Linked DNA regions of Homo sapiens: regions 1 and 3 are each linked to region 2. Evidence: promoter capture Hi-C in 16 types of primary human blood cells and fetal thymus (Javierre and others, 2016). All regions are on one chromosome and are shown on one strand. The core of a region is centred on a gene start or on the middle of the fragment in contact, and the rest is flanking DNA. Distances in the headings are between cores, read along the strand shown.

Region 1 (4,887 bases), core at 1,634-4,133, 1.0 Mb before region 2:
CAATACACTTTATTGAGATAAAGGCACTGATAAGTTCCACAGAAATAAGACTTTTAAACTCTGCATCTTCCAAACTTTTTTGACCACAAATCCCCCTTTTCTTGAATTGCCTCTATATGTTTCATGGAATGCTATTTGGGAAACAGTGCTTTAAAGTTCTTCCCTGCTTTTATTCAGAATTTCCACACACTAGACCTGTTTCCGATTTCTGAACAAGATCTACATCCATCTCCCTTCATGTGGCTGCTTTCCAGTGTCCTTAGCTTTCTTCACCAGGCACATGAAATGTATTTCCCCAGTTGTTCCATAGGTGATATAGTTTCTACATATTGCATAATTCTTCTTAGTTTGTCCTTGCCTTGTGGGCACTACTTCACAGAGTATCAGACCCAGTGCACGTGGCATCTGACCTTGTGGTGGAACATGGACACCTAACATAATCTGACCTATTAAGTAATTACTCATTTTATGCATTGAAACATGTAGCATCTAGGCATGTATCCTACTGCTACTATAAAAAACAAATAAGACATCACCTCCTCCAGTAAGCCTACTCTGAGGCTGCAATTGTCCTTATCACCATTACTATGATTCATTGTAATTGCCTAATTAGGTGATTGTTTCTCTAGACTATGATCTCCTTGAGGCCAGGCACTGTGTTTTATCTATAACTGAGTCTCCGGCACCTGGTATATCTGCTAGGTTCATAATAAGTGTATATGAAAGGAAGGAATGGATGAGTGGATAGACGAAAGGTCAAGTGCCTTTATAAGAAGATTGTCGAACACATGGACACAGGGTGGGGAACATCACACACCGGGGCCTGTTGTGGGGTCAGGGGAGTGGGGAGGGATAGCATTTGGAGATATACCTAATGTAAATGACGAGTTAATGGGTGCAGCACACCAACATGGCACATGTATACATATGTAACTAACCTGCACGTTGTGCACATGTACCCTAAAACTTAAAGTATAATAAAACATAAAACTAAAAATAAAAAAATAAGAAGATTGTCCCTAGGGCAGTGTTTCTGGTCTTTCACTGCAAAAGTCCCTTTAGTTTTTTTCTGTTCTCTCCCAAATGGACTTCAAATTTTGGAAAGATTCTGTTTACCAAACTGTATTAAATAAGAAGTAGTTTATTTTCCTGCTATTTGATCAAATGCCTAGTTTTTCTCAGCATGAGATAAAAGGCACTACCAATGCAGTTAATATTCCAGCCAAGAGCAAGGGCCTTTAAAGGCAGCCTAGTGACGCTTGTCAATGTGAGGTTTTATTCAGACTTTTGGGATCCAGAGAATGTCACTCCCATTACTACTTCCCAGTGCTGGCTGCTAGAGCACCAGAGACCACAGGCTGGCAAGGGGTAACCTTGAGCCTTTTCTGGGACCAGCACCTGGGCTAACTTCAGTTTGTGTGTTCTCCATGAGCCAGTTGTGGAAGGAGGTTAAGGTCACTAGTGAAAGCACTTTATTCTTTATTAGCTCCTGGACAAGGCAGATGTGGTAGTCTTTAGATTTAGCTATAGTAGTTGTGACTGAGGTCTCACAGTGTGGGCCAACTCATTGCTGATATGGAAAAGACCTAGCGAGAACGCCAGGCTCAGCAATCTCAAGGCACAGCTGTGCAGCTTCTGTCTTTCATGCTGAGATGTCCTAACCTTTCCCAAAGACTCTGCTTATTTTCAGTTTCAGGCTGGAATCTTCATTCAGAAGTAGGTAGGGCCAGTAGTTTCCCCAACCTATTCTGGGAGCACGCTTCCATTACCCCTGTGGCAGCATGTTTCTGTGCCTAACTTGGAAGCCTCTGTACCTCTATTTTAAACTTGATGCCTGCAGCCTTTGGGTTGTGGAAAAGGCAGAGGTTCCACCTTTCAGTTCTTATGAACTTCCTATGTCCTACAAGACACAGGAAAAACAGTGAGCCTAAGTAAGAGTACCTCAACAGTGCACATTACAGCGATTCTTTCTCTACTGTTTGTTAAAATGCCAACCCAACCCCTGGAAGAGAAGGCTTCTACTTTAAAAAGAGTCATTTTGTGTTCTTTTTTTGACAGATTATAATAATATACAATTATGTGGTACATTGTGATATGATATACGAATATGTTGTACAATGATTAGATTAACCTAGTTAATATACCCATCATCTTAAATACTTATCATTTATTCTTCTTAAGAAAGCTCATACCTTGGGAAAGCTTCAAGGTGATCTAGTCTACAATGGTTTGCATTGAGGACCTCAGGGAGGAGAATGCTTGTTATGTTTGAAAATGGCACAATTTTTTTCCCTCAAATCTGGGAATGGGGAGATATGAGATGAAATATTTTCCTAGTAAGAAAATGCTAAGTGGTATTTGAGTAAACATTGACTTGGGGAGCCCTTGATAAAATATCCACATGAGATCTCCAAGACCCTGTCTTATAACAAGTTTTCCTTCTTATGGGAGTGGAGGTGCTAGTGAATAGGACCATTTCCCATAAGCAAGGTATCTTAGTTAAGATTGTTGCAACTTTTCTTGTCTATACTAAGAGAAAATGAAACAGTACAGCCAAATGATCTGTTTGATGCTTTTTTAGTTAGAAATCATGCTTACTTTTCCTTTTATTTTTTGAATATTTATGTCACTGTAATCTGTTTTCCAAGAAAAGCAAATGAATGTTTAACGAGATCTTATTGTGGGAGAAGGTCTGTGGGATTCTGCTATGGAAAGCGGTTTAAATAATTTTCATAATAGTCTCATAGCTTCTGCCCCAGGAAACGATATAACAGGGGTCAGAATGTCCATTCTGTTGCAATAATAGCCTAGACATTTCTATAAGCCTACTGTAGGATTTCAGCACCCCTCTGTTGTCTGGTTTCCCAGTTATGAGTAAACAATGTCAGTCTGGGGCTCAGGTCATTTGGGAAATCGTTGCTTCCCATCTTTAGGCAGAATTGGAAGTTTCCGACTATTGTCTGGATGCTAACTTTGATAGGGATGAAGGGATCTGTGACATCCTTTGATTGACTTTTGTTCCTTGGTGTCCTGAAATTTCAGTCTATGATGAAGAAAATAAAACAATGACAAGGCAGGTGCCCCGACTCTGGCTGATACCACACTAGGCACTTACTCATTTGCTACTCATTGGAACCCCACAACCTCACTCTTGGCCTTTCAACTAATATTGGTAAACTGGAGCATGAAAACAGTTTAATCATTTGGGGGTTTAGGTCCCAGGATATCCAAGCACAATCCTGGGCTGTCTTCCTGGTGTGCTTTGCCTGGCATTAAATGCCTCACCTCTTGCTTCAGTTCAACCTACTCCTGGGTCATGGCTTTAGACACAGATGTACTCTCCTGGTTCTCTTGAGATGTGATGTGGGCAAGTGGTCCGCTGTGGCTTCTCTCCAGGTTCAACCACAATTCCCCGTGATTGGGCAGAGTTCTCAGGATAAGAAGACTGAGACCTCACAGAGGGAATTACCAACATTCTAGATTTTGTCCCTTAGAGCTGGCCTAAGGAATCCAGCCAGGTTAACTTGGGTCAAGTGGGGTCTGACAATGATTCCCTCCTGCCTGAGAAGCTTGCCTGACTCTATTCCACCAATCTATTAGCTAATCCTAGATGCTTGCCTCTGATATTATTCTTTGAGCTCCTTAAAAAGAAGATTCTCATCTCAGTTTGGGAAATGTGATTATGTCTGAGACATTACACACTTGGGTCATTTTTATAAAATCAAAAAATGTTGTTAAACTTCTGCAGAATTGGCGGAAACAGAACTTGGCACACTCATTTAGATCCGACCACTTTGACGCCACATGATTTGAGGCAAATTGTCAATTGAATTGAATTTTTAGCTTTTTAAGTATCACATCCGTAGTAATGTGTGGAACAGATATGCAAACTCCAGCACGGACTTCATCTCGAGATTAGGGATGGTGTAAGTGCTGGGATAAGGTACGATCTAGGAATGGAGGCAAGATTTCTGCCAGGATTCACATGGGACTCACAAGTAGGGGAGAGAGAAACTGAAACATTGGTGGTTTGTTCATAGGGCCACAGGGTAGGTGTGAATTGAAATATCTCCTAGCACTGAATTAGCTGGGTTGAAATGTCATTGGCTGTAGTTGGTGAGATGACCACTATCCCATTGACTGAATGACCTTGGGTTGGCAACCTGGAGAATTTTAGCTCAGGAAATGAATAAACAAACATATATCCAGACCTAAGTTACTCCATTTTCTTGTGAACATCAAAGATGTGGATTTTTTAGAGGTGTCAATACCATGGGGAGAAGAAGGTGTGTGTGTGTGTGTGTGTGTGTGTGTGTGTGCATGTTTATATGTGTGTGTGTGCATGTTTATGTGTGTGTTTGTGGGTGTGCAAGTTTATGTGTGTGTGCATGTTTATGTGTGTGTGTTTGTGGGTGTGCATGTTTGTGTGTGTGCATGTTTATGCGTGTGTGTGTTTGTGGGTGTGCATGTTTGTGTGTTTTGGGGTGTGCATGTTTATGTGTGTGTTTGCGGGTGTGCATGTTTGTGTGTGTGGTTGTGGTTGTGTTTTCTTAATAGAAATTTTGAGAAAATTGAAATAGAATTATTTAAATGTTTAGCTTTGAAGGTTCAGAAGTAACTTTTAATTTAGGCAGATGAAAAACTTACACATCTTGGGTTGCTGATAAATTGCTCATGTTTGGTGTTTTAAATTTCTCAGTATGAGTTTTTTCAGACCACTCTTATACAATTTACTAATCACATGTAGTTATTGATGCTTTCCTTAATTTAATTCCAATGGAGCAACAAATTACTGACCTTCAAGAATCCAGCATCTCTTACTTTTCACCAGTTGTGTCAGGGCAAAACTGGGAAAAGAAGAAACGGTCTATGTTAGAGCTACATTGC
Region 2 (4,419 bases), core at 1,000-3,499:
CTGAGGTCCCTCAGCCCACCTTCATCCTGGCTTGCCCAGCTGCCTTCAGATTCATTCACTCGGATGTCTCCCTCTGATACCACCTCAAGCTCAATATGTCAAGGAGAAACTCACACCTTTCTTCACACCCCTTCCCTAAAACAGCATTTCTTCCTGACTGGTCTACTGCTCTCCAGCACCACCACTTTCCTTGTTCCAACCTTGGAGTTACATAACTAACAGATGCCTCTCTATTGCTCCCAAGTCAGCAGCCAACAAATCCAGGGATTCTTTTCCAAAGTAAGATTCAGTTCTTTCTTTTTCCACAGCCACCACCAAGACTGAGCACCTAACACTCTCTCCTGTATTGGGGCCTTCCGATTTGGCTGCCTACCTCCACAGTTTCTCTGCCACACCATTCCCCCTGCAAGGCCCTGCTTCTGATAATTTAATGTTACTGTTATGCTTTTTGTAAAAATCACAGAACAGTTTCTTAAAAGACAAATTCCAAGGTTGAATGTAAAGTTGTTTATCAGTTTTATTTACCTGTTTTTGTTTTCATACTCTTGAATAAAATCCTTTATTTATATATTGAATTAATATACTCTGGCCCCCACCTGTGTGCCAGCCAAGGATACATAAACATGAACAGAATATGGCTTTTGCCATTTTCTGAAAAGCAAATAGGCCCATGGTAAAACACAAGCACTCATGACAGTTTATTTAGGATGCAGTGAGAAAAGTGCTGTAGCAGAGAGGAATCAAGATAATGCCAAAGTCTTAGGGAGAAAACTGGAAGCATGAAAGATTTTATAGGTGATAAAATATGCAACAGGGCATTAAAACATGAATAAGCACTAGGTAGTTTGGTCTTTACTGTTAGCAAGGGACAGTCTCTCTTTTTTTTTTTTTTTTTTTGAGATGGAGTCTTGCTCTGTAGCCCAGGCTAGAGTCCAGTGGCCCGATCTCGGCTCACTGCAAACTCCGTCTCCTGGGTTCAAGCGATTCTCCTTCCTCAGCTTCCCAAGTAGCTGAGTGAGAATATAGGCATGTGCCACCACCCCCGCCTAATTTTTGCATTTTCAGTACAGACAGGGTTTCGCCATGTTGGCCAGGCTGATCTCGAACTCCTGACCTCAGGTGATCTGCCCACCGCCCACCTCGGTCTCCCAAAGTGTTAGGATTACAGGCGTGAGCCACCGTTCCCAGCTGGACAGTCTCTTTTATAGGTACAGTACACACTCTCCTCTCCCCAGCTGCCATGACTCACTCTAAATTACCCTTCATCCTCTCCCCAGCCTCTTTTAGGACTCCCCTAGGCTTTGCTAATTCAAATTCTGCTTTCTTCCAAGTCCACCTCAAGCCAAGACTAATTTCTCCTCAGCGCTTCCTAGCTCTGATCTTCATGTTCTTCATCTTCTCCTCCCAGTACTGCACAATATCATTTCTTAATCAGAAGGTTAGCCCTACTTTTTAGGACAAAGGTTCTCAGTATTATCATTGTATTTAAATCATCTGTATATGTGTTCGTAGATTTGGCTCAGCACCTAGGAATCTGCTTTTCAACAAGTCCCCAGGGGATCCAAGCACAAAAGGATCCTGGACCACTTTGACCCACTTTGAGGAAGGCTGTGTTAAACCTCTGCGGTTGGCTTTTATATCTCCATATGGGCTGTCCGCAGCCCACGGCGCCTAGCATAGTGTAGGTGCGTTGCTCAGCTCTCTGGCTCCCGGTGTCTGCTCAGCTTGGTGACTATTAGATACCTCAATTATTAATGACACCCAGAGTCAAGAAGAGTAGCTCAGCCAAGTGCACAGAGCTGCCCTCTCCAGAGGAGACTAACTCCTGAGGGATAAGGTCGCTCTGAAAGTCACAAGAGCAAAAGGAAATTACATTTTCTGCCCTCTCAAAAAATGAGCAGCCATCACCCCAAATGACCTTAGTGCATCTCAAATAAACCATGCTTTCAGAGTATGCAAAACGCACTGCAAGTTAAACCGATTGCAAAAGAAAAAGCCCACAGGTACTCCGTGCGCTCAAAGCCATCATCCTCACAAACGTAAAGTGATGCACTCCAAATAGAGATCAAGGAAAACGAATGCCACGCAGGTCACCAGGCTTGGAAAATAGAAGGCACCCGAAGTTGTTCTACGTGGCTGTCCCCAGCCACCCATTCCACCCGCTCGACAAGGGATCCTGGGCCGAGCCCGGCCATCCGCGGGGGCGGGGCCGGGACGGCGGCGGCGCGCTGACGTAACGGGCGTGGGTCGTCCGTCGCGCCGCCCGGCGAGGAGTGGGCTGGCGGCGGTAGCTGTCGCCCGCTTGGTTGCGTGACCGCGGGGTCCGCGTCCGCTCCCTCCACCCTTCGCCCTTCGCCCTTCGCCTCGTTCCGGCCTCCGCGGCCCAGCAACGGCCGTCATGGTGCCGTCGGCGCTCCCTGCGCGGCCCCGCTGAGCCTCGGTGCGGCGGCGAGCGCGGTCGAGATCGCCATGCCTACCCGTGAGTGGCCGGCCGAGGGCCGGGGGCGTTGGGAGGCGACTGCCTGCGCGACGCGCTTGGGCCGGGTACTCCTCCCGGGCGGCTGGGGAGGCTGGGCCGCGCTGAGCAGAGCCAGGAAGTGTCTGCGAGCGGCGGAGTTAGTTTCGTTTCGGCTTAGCCTTCCGGAGATGGCGTGAGCCCGTTGCACGGATCGGGAAACTGAGGCCCGAACGTTAAGGGAACTGCGGGGACGCGCTGTTAGGAGGCGGCAGAGCTGGTGGTAACCTGACCCGTGGGATTTCAAAGTTAAAGCCCTTTTCCCACGGCCACACGGCTTCGTGGGACTTTATGGAAATATTGAAAATAACTGCGGTACCATTGTCAGTCCCTTCTCACCTCGGGCCGGACGTCGCTAGTGGACGCGCCGGCCCCGAGTCCCTTCCCGCGGCCGCCAGACAGACCCCCGACAGCCTAACTCGGCGTCCGTATCGCCGTCGGGGCGGCTGAAGTCGGAGCTTTCTGTGGAGCTTGTTAGGCAGAGGCACCTCGACTGTGGCTTTTGGACCACACTTCGGATTCACCCGGGCAGATGATTAAAAATGCCGGTTTCGGGACCCGCCCTATTCCCATGGAATTAGTCTGGAGCTTGGGCCCCGGAGTCTGCATGTCTAATAAGCGTCCCTGGGGTTACCAAGGCACCCCAAAGTTTAAAAGTCACTCGGTGTTGGAGGATTTTTAGACAGACGCGATACTACAAGTACTGCTAATGACCTATTTTAAAATGACCCAGATAATCGCAGTGTGACTTTATAGCCACTGGTCAATGTGGATATGTGCAAACTAGGGAAGCTCCTGATCTTGGGTAGAGAGGAAGCAACTTTGTCATTGATTTGAGAATTCAAGTAGGACTCCTTTGACTAAGTGTTCAATACTATAGAATCTTTACACACTTGTGAATATATTTCCTAGAATTCATAACTACTTCTAGTTGTCCTTGTTTTGTAGCCATCTGGGACGCTGAATTTCCAGGTCAGTCTCCAATGCACGTTTCGTCTAGTGGTGGGAAAAGATGAGTTATTTCTTGATATTATAAAGATTGATATTTTCCTGATATTTAAGGATATTAAATTTAAATTGATATTAAAGATATTTAAATATCTTTTTGAGATTTAAAGATTTTCCTGTGGCAAATCTTTACATAGTCCTGATGTAGAGATTACTTTTAACTCCTCATACATGTGTGGGTACTGTGGATTTTGTTTTCTTCACACACTACTGTGTGTCCTTAACTCACGTTCTTGGACTTCGCATCCAGTAAATATGTCCAGTTTAAATTTCTGTTTTATTCCTTTTGGCTGGAGGAATATCATTTACAATCATCTTCATTGTTATTGCCAGTTTAGTACTTCTAAATTCATGTTCACGTTATTCAGTGAATATCTGAGACTAGCACTATGCTAATCTTTTATTTTCTGAGAAACCAAAGGGGAGGAGGTAAGCACCTATTGAAAGTTGAGGCTTCAAGTAGAATTTATTGGTAACATGCCAGAATTATCCTGTGAAATAAAATTTTTAGTTATGTTCTAGGGTTATCTAGCTTCACAGAGTGGATATAGTAAACTCGTTTCTTTTCAAATGTTGAGTTCATTCTGCAAAATGATTTTAGGATGGGCCATGGTGGAGTTTACATAGTTAAGAATGCAGATTTCACACCCTGACTGGAAGACAAGTGAAATGTTTGTTTTATCTGTCATTGTTAATATTTGTCATGGTACATTTTTTATGACTGAATAAAAATGTGCTGTGGATTGATTGGGGGTACCAGTGTGAGGTGAATAGTGTTCATATTTGCCTTTTCTCTCCTTTGGCAGTCACAGCTGCCGAAATTGCTGGGATAGTGCAGTGGACAACAATATTTCTTTGAAATTCTGTTTGTAGAATATATATCCAACACAGAGATG
Region 3 (4,253 bases), core at 1,607-4,106, 1.2 Mb before region 2:
TAAGCCCGTAGGGCTGGACCCTACAGAAAATCTCATTTAAACCCCTACCCCACAAAGAGCCTATAATCAAGTGACATTGACACCCCTCAGGGATGATCCTTTGGGGGACCAAAGTTCTCATGGGTTCTCTGTCAGTGAATTTCAGAGGATATATTTCATAGGTAAGAGGGAAGCTTTGGAGATGGATTGTCCTGCTTATTAGCTTTGTGACATTGGCTAAACTCCTCAGTTTTATCTGTCATACTGGGAAAATATCATCCACCTAATAGGATTGTTGGGAGGAATAAATAAGATAATTCAAGAAGAGGGCTTAGACCAATTCCTAGAGTGTAGTCAGTGCCCAGTAAATGCTGTGGCATCTGGAAGGATCTTAGACCACATGACCAAGGAGTGGGGTTGGGAGTAGGGTGGCAGGCAGGGAACAACTTAAACAACAGGAATGGGATTGCATTTCTCAGCAGAGCCCATGTAATGGGACTCTTCCTGTAGCTAGTGATCCAGGACAGAGTGTTCAGAGGTAGGAGAGTGTGATGGGCCAGGAGACAAGGGAGGAGAATCCATCAAGACAGATGCAGGCCATGCTGGGCTATGTCAAGTGCAACAACAGTGGCAATAGGACTTTGTACTTAGGAGGATGTATTAGTCAGGGTTCTCTAGAGGGACAGAACTTATATATATATATATATATAAAATATAGGATATATGTATCCTATTAGTATATAGGATATATGTATATTAGTATATATATATTAGTATATATATATTAGTACTTAATCATATATAATGCAAGTCTGAAACCCAGACTTATACATATATGGGAGTTTGTTAAGTGTGTGTATATATGTGTGTGTATATATATATGTACACACACACACACACACACATATATATATATATAAAGGGGAGTTTATTAAGTATTGACTTACACAACCACAAAGTCCCACAATAGGCTGTCTGCAGGCTGAGGAGCAAGGAGAGCCAGTCTGAGTTCCCAAAGTGAAGAACTTGGAGTCCGATGTTCGAGGGCAGGAGGCACCCAGCATGGGAGAAAGATGTAGGCTGAGAGGCTAGGCCACTCTCTCCTTTTCACATTTTTCTTCCTGCTTTATATTCCCTGGCAGCTGGTTAGATTGTGCCCACCAGATTAAGGGTGGATCTGCCTTCCCCAGCCCACTGACTCAAATGTTAATCTCTTTTGGCAACACTCTCACAGACACACCCAGGATCAATACTTTCAGTCCAATCAAGTTGACACTCAGTATTAACCATCACAGATGAGGTGAGGACAGAAGTCAGCCTGGAGAGTCCAATGGTAAGGCAGTGGAGACACAGAAGGTAGACAGCTTCTGCTAGAAGCAAATCTGGGGAAGAAATGAAACAGAAGTCAGCAGCTTAAGAGTGCCATGGCAATAGGGACAGAGAAAGGAGGCCACATATCAGATAGAGCCCGTAGGTAATTAGAAGGTCTGGGGCATTTGGAAATAGGAGGTTTCAGTTAGAATAGTTTTGCTGGTGTTGCCATTTCACAACTTCTGGCTGGGGCAAGAGAGGGAGAAGGGTAGTGTTGTTACATTGACTGACCATGGGGACCACTTCAAGTACAGATGTGAGGACAGGAGGAGGCAGCCAGATGGGAGAAACTTGGGGGACCAAAGTGACCACAGCTGTAAAGAGCAGGAAAGAGGGGAACTGTAGAGTGCTGGAAGCCTGAAGGCTGTGTCTCAACACGGGAGAGAGGACTAGAGGGGGATAAAGACTTTACCAGCCTTGTGACCCCAACTTCTAGTAGATGGCCACCCACACATGACAGGTATTAATATAAGTTGGTGGTGGGATGAAGAAACCATAGGTAACATAGGTCTCATTATGCCCATTTTGCAGATGACCAGAGACACTTACTGTTTTGTTTAAGGTCACACAGCTAGAAAGTGCTAGGGCCAAGACCCGAAGTCAGGTCTCCAGAGTCCTGGCCTAGGGCTCTTTCCTTCAGCACATTGTCACTCTCTCAGGCTTTGCCACTTGCCTCCATCACACCTACTCGGAGCCAACCTCCTATCCTCTTGACAGGCTTACAGGGAGGCAAGAGGGTGTTACGCAAAGGAAACTTTCTTCAAATTCTGCTTTTTCACTTGCAAGCTGTGTGGTCTGGGCCAATATTTTACCTCTTTATACCTCATCATTTCCTCCGTCAAACAGGAATGACTCAGCCTTCATGTAGCTGCATCTGAGACAGCCAGCTGGAATATAAACTCCAGGAGGGCAGGGACTTTTGCCTGTTTAGTCCTCTGCTTTGTCTCCAGCACCAGCACCAGCACCTAGAACAGCTCCAAGTCGTTCTGGTGTTAGTTAAGCTTCCTTGGAGAAGAAGAACCTCTCACTTCAGGCTTCTGTTCCCCAGTCTGACCAGAAGATGGCAGCAAAGGAAAGCGTGTCCCCTGGACAAGGCTGTTGCCGTGCTGAAGGCCTCTGCAGATTTCCTGATTGCTTGTCCCTGCATTAGGAAGCAGAGCTGTCACTGCTCCTTGAGCTTCAGAACTGTGGGCCTGTGCGGAGCCTAGTTATGAATCCTTTTTATAGAGGCCTGGTGCTGCTTGGGTGAGAAGGGGCAGCATGTGCAGGAGGTGCCTTTTGGGCCTCCATCTAGTAGAGCTGTGTATTAATCCGTTTTCACACTGCTATAAAGACACTACCTGAAACTGGGTAATTTATGAAGAAAAGAGGTTTAATTGACTCACAGTTCCACATAGCTGGGGAGGACTCAGGAAACTTACAATTGAGGCGGAAGTTGAGGGGGAAGCAAGGGGTGTCTTACATGGCAGCAGGAGAAAGCATTAGAGGGGAACTGTCAAGCCCCTTATCAAACCATCAGATCTCATGAGAACTCACTCACTATCAAAAGAACAGCATGGCGGAAACCACCCCCATGATCCAATCACCTCTCACCAAATTCCTCCCCTCCACACATGGGGATTACAATTCGAGATAAGATTTGGGTGTGGACACAGATCCAAACCATATCATTCTGCCTCTGGCCCCTCCCAAATCTCATGTCCTTTTCACACTTCAAAACCAATCATTCCTTCCCAGCTATCCCCCAAAGTCTTAACTCATTCTAGCATTAACACCAAAGTCTCATTTTAGACTTGGACTTTTCAGTTAAAAGTCAAAAACTTTTGAGACAAGACAAGTTCCTTCCACCTATGAGCCTGTAAAATAAAAAACAAGTTAGTTACTGCCAAGATACAATTGAGGTACAGGGACTGGGTGAATGTTCCTGTTCTAAATGGAAGAAGTTGATCAAAACGAAGGGGCCACAGGCCCCATGCAAGTCTGAAACCCAGTGGGGCAGTCATTAAATCTTAAAGCTTTGAAATGATCTCCTTTGACTCCGTGTCTCACATCCAGGGCATGCTGATGCAAAGGGTGGGCTCCCACAGCCTTGGGAAGCTCCACCCCTGTGGGTCTGCAGGGTATAGCCTGGCATTGAGTGCCTGTGGCTTTTCTAAGTGCATGGTGCAAGCTTTCAGTGGATCTACCTTTCGGGGGTCTGGAGGATGGTAGACCTCATCTCACAGCTCCACTAGGCAGTGCCCCAGTGGGGAAACTGTGTGGGGCTTCCAACCCCACATTTCCCTTTCACACTGCCCTAACAGAGGTTCTCCATGAGGGCTCTGCCCCGGCAGCAGACTTCTGCCTAGACATTCAGGTGTTTCCATACATCCTCTGAAATCTGAGCAGAAGTTCCCAAAACTCAACTGTTGTCTTCTGTCTACCCACAGGCCCAACACCACATGCAAGCTGCCAAAGCTTCTATGTAGTACTGGGCTGTGGATAGCAGTGGTCTGGGCTGTACCTTGGCTCCTTTTAGCCATGGCTGGAACTGGAGTGACTGGGATGCAGGGCAACAAGTCCCAAAGCTTCACAGAGCAATGGGGACCTGGGCATGGCCCATGAAACCTAGGCCTCTGGGCCTGTGATGGGAGGGGCTGCTCTGAAGGGCTCTGACATGCCCTGGAGACATTTTCCCCATTGACTTGGCTATTAACATTTGGCTCCTTGTTGCTTATGCAAATTTCTGCCACCAGCTTGAATTCCTCCACAGAAAATGAGTTTTTTTTCTACCACATGGTCAAGCTGCACATTTTCCAAACCTTTATGCTCTGCTTCCCTTTTAAACATAAGTTCCAATTTCAAGCTATCTCTTTGCGAGCACATATTGCTGTACACTGTTAAGAGCATCCAAGCCACCTCTT

The links. Contacts are between HindIII fragments. The CHiCAGO score rates a contact against its expected background, and 5 or more counts as called.
Region 1: a fragment that was not itself captured here is called in contact with the fragment with the promoter of EFR3A in region 2 in 1 of 17 cell types (endothelial precursors); the score reaches 5.9 in endothelial precursors.
Region 3: a fragment that was not itself captured here is called in contact with the fragment with the promoter of EFR3A in region 2 in 1 of 17 cell types (endothelial precursors); the score reaches 5.7 in endothelial precursors.

What each region holds. Positions count from the first base shown.
Region 1 is chr8:130,889,372-130,894,258 of GRCh38, forward strand. All of the region lies in intron 7 of ADCY8 (adenylate cyclase 8), which reads right to left. All of the region lies in intron 2 of LOC124902068 (a long non-coding RNA gene), which reads left to right. Among named protein-coding and RNA genes, the nearest start is that of ADCY8, 150 kb to the right of the region's middle. The HindIII fragment of the contact is 1,367 bases long and covers 2,201-3,567 here.
Region 2 is chr8:131,901,844-131,906,262 of GRCh38, forward strand. EFR3A (EFR3 homolog A) reads left to right here and starts at 2,250. Exons shown (of 23, transcript NM_015137.6): 1 at 2,250-2,479. The coding sequence starts at 2,470. RefSeq lists a silencer at 2,147-2,626 and an enhancer at 3,197-3,246. The HindIII fragment of the contact is 8,534 bases long and covers 1-4,419 here.
Region 3 is chr8:130,747,424-130,751,676 of GRCh38, forward strand. No RefSeq gene overlaps it. Among named protein-coding and RNA genes, the nearest start is that of ADCY8, 290 kb to the right of the region's middle. RefSeq lists a silencer at 1-14. The HindIII fragment of the contact is 1,014 bases long and covers 2,350-3,363 here.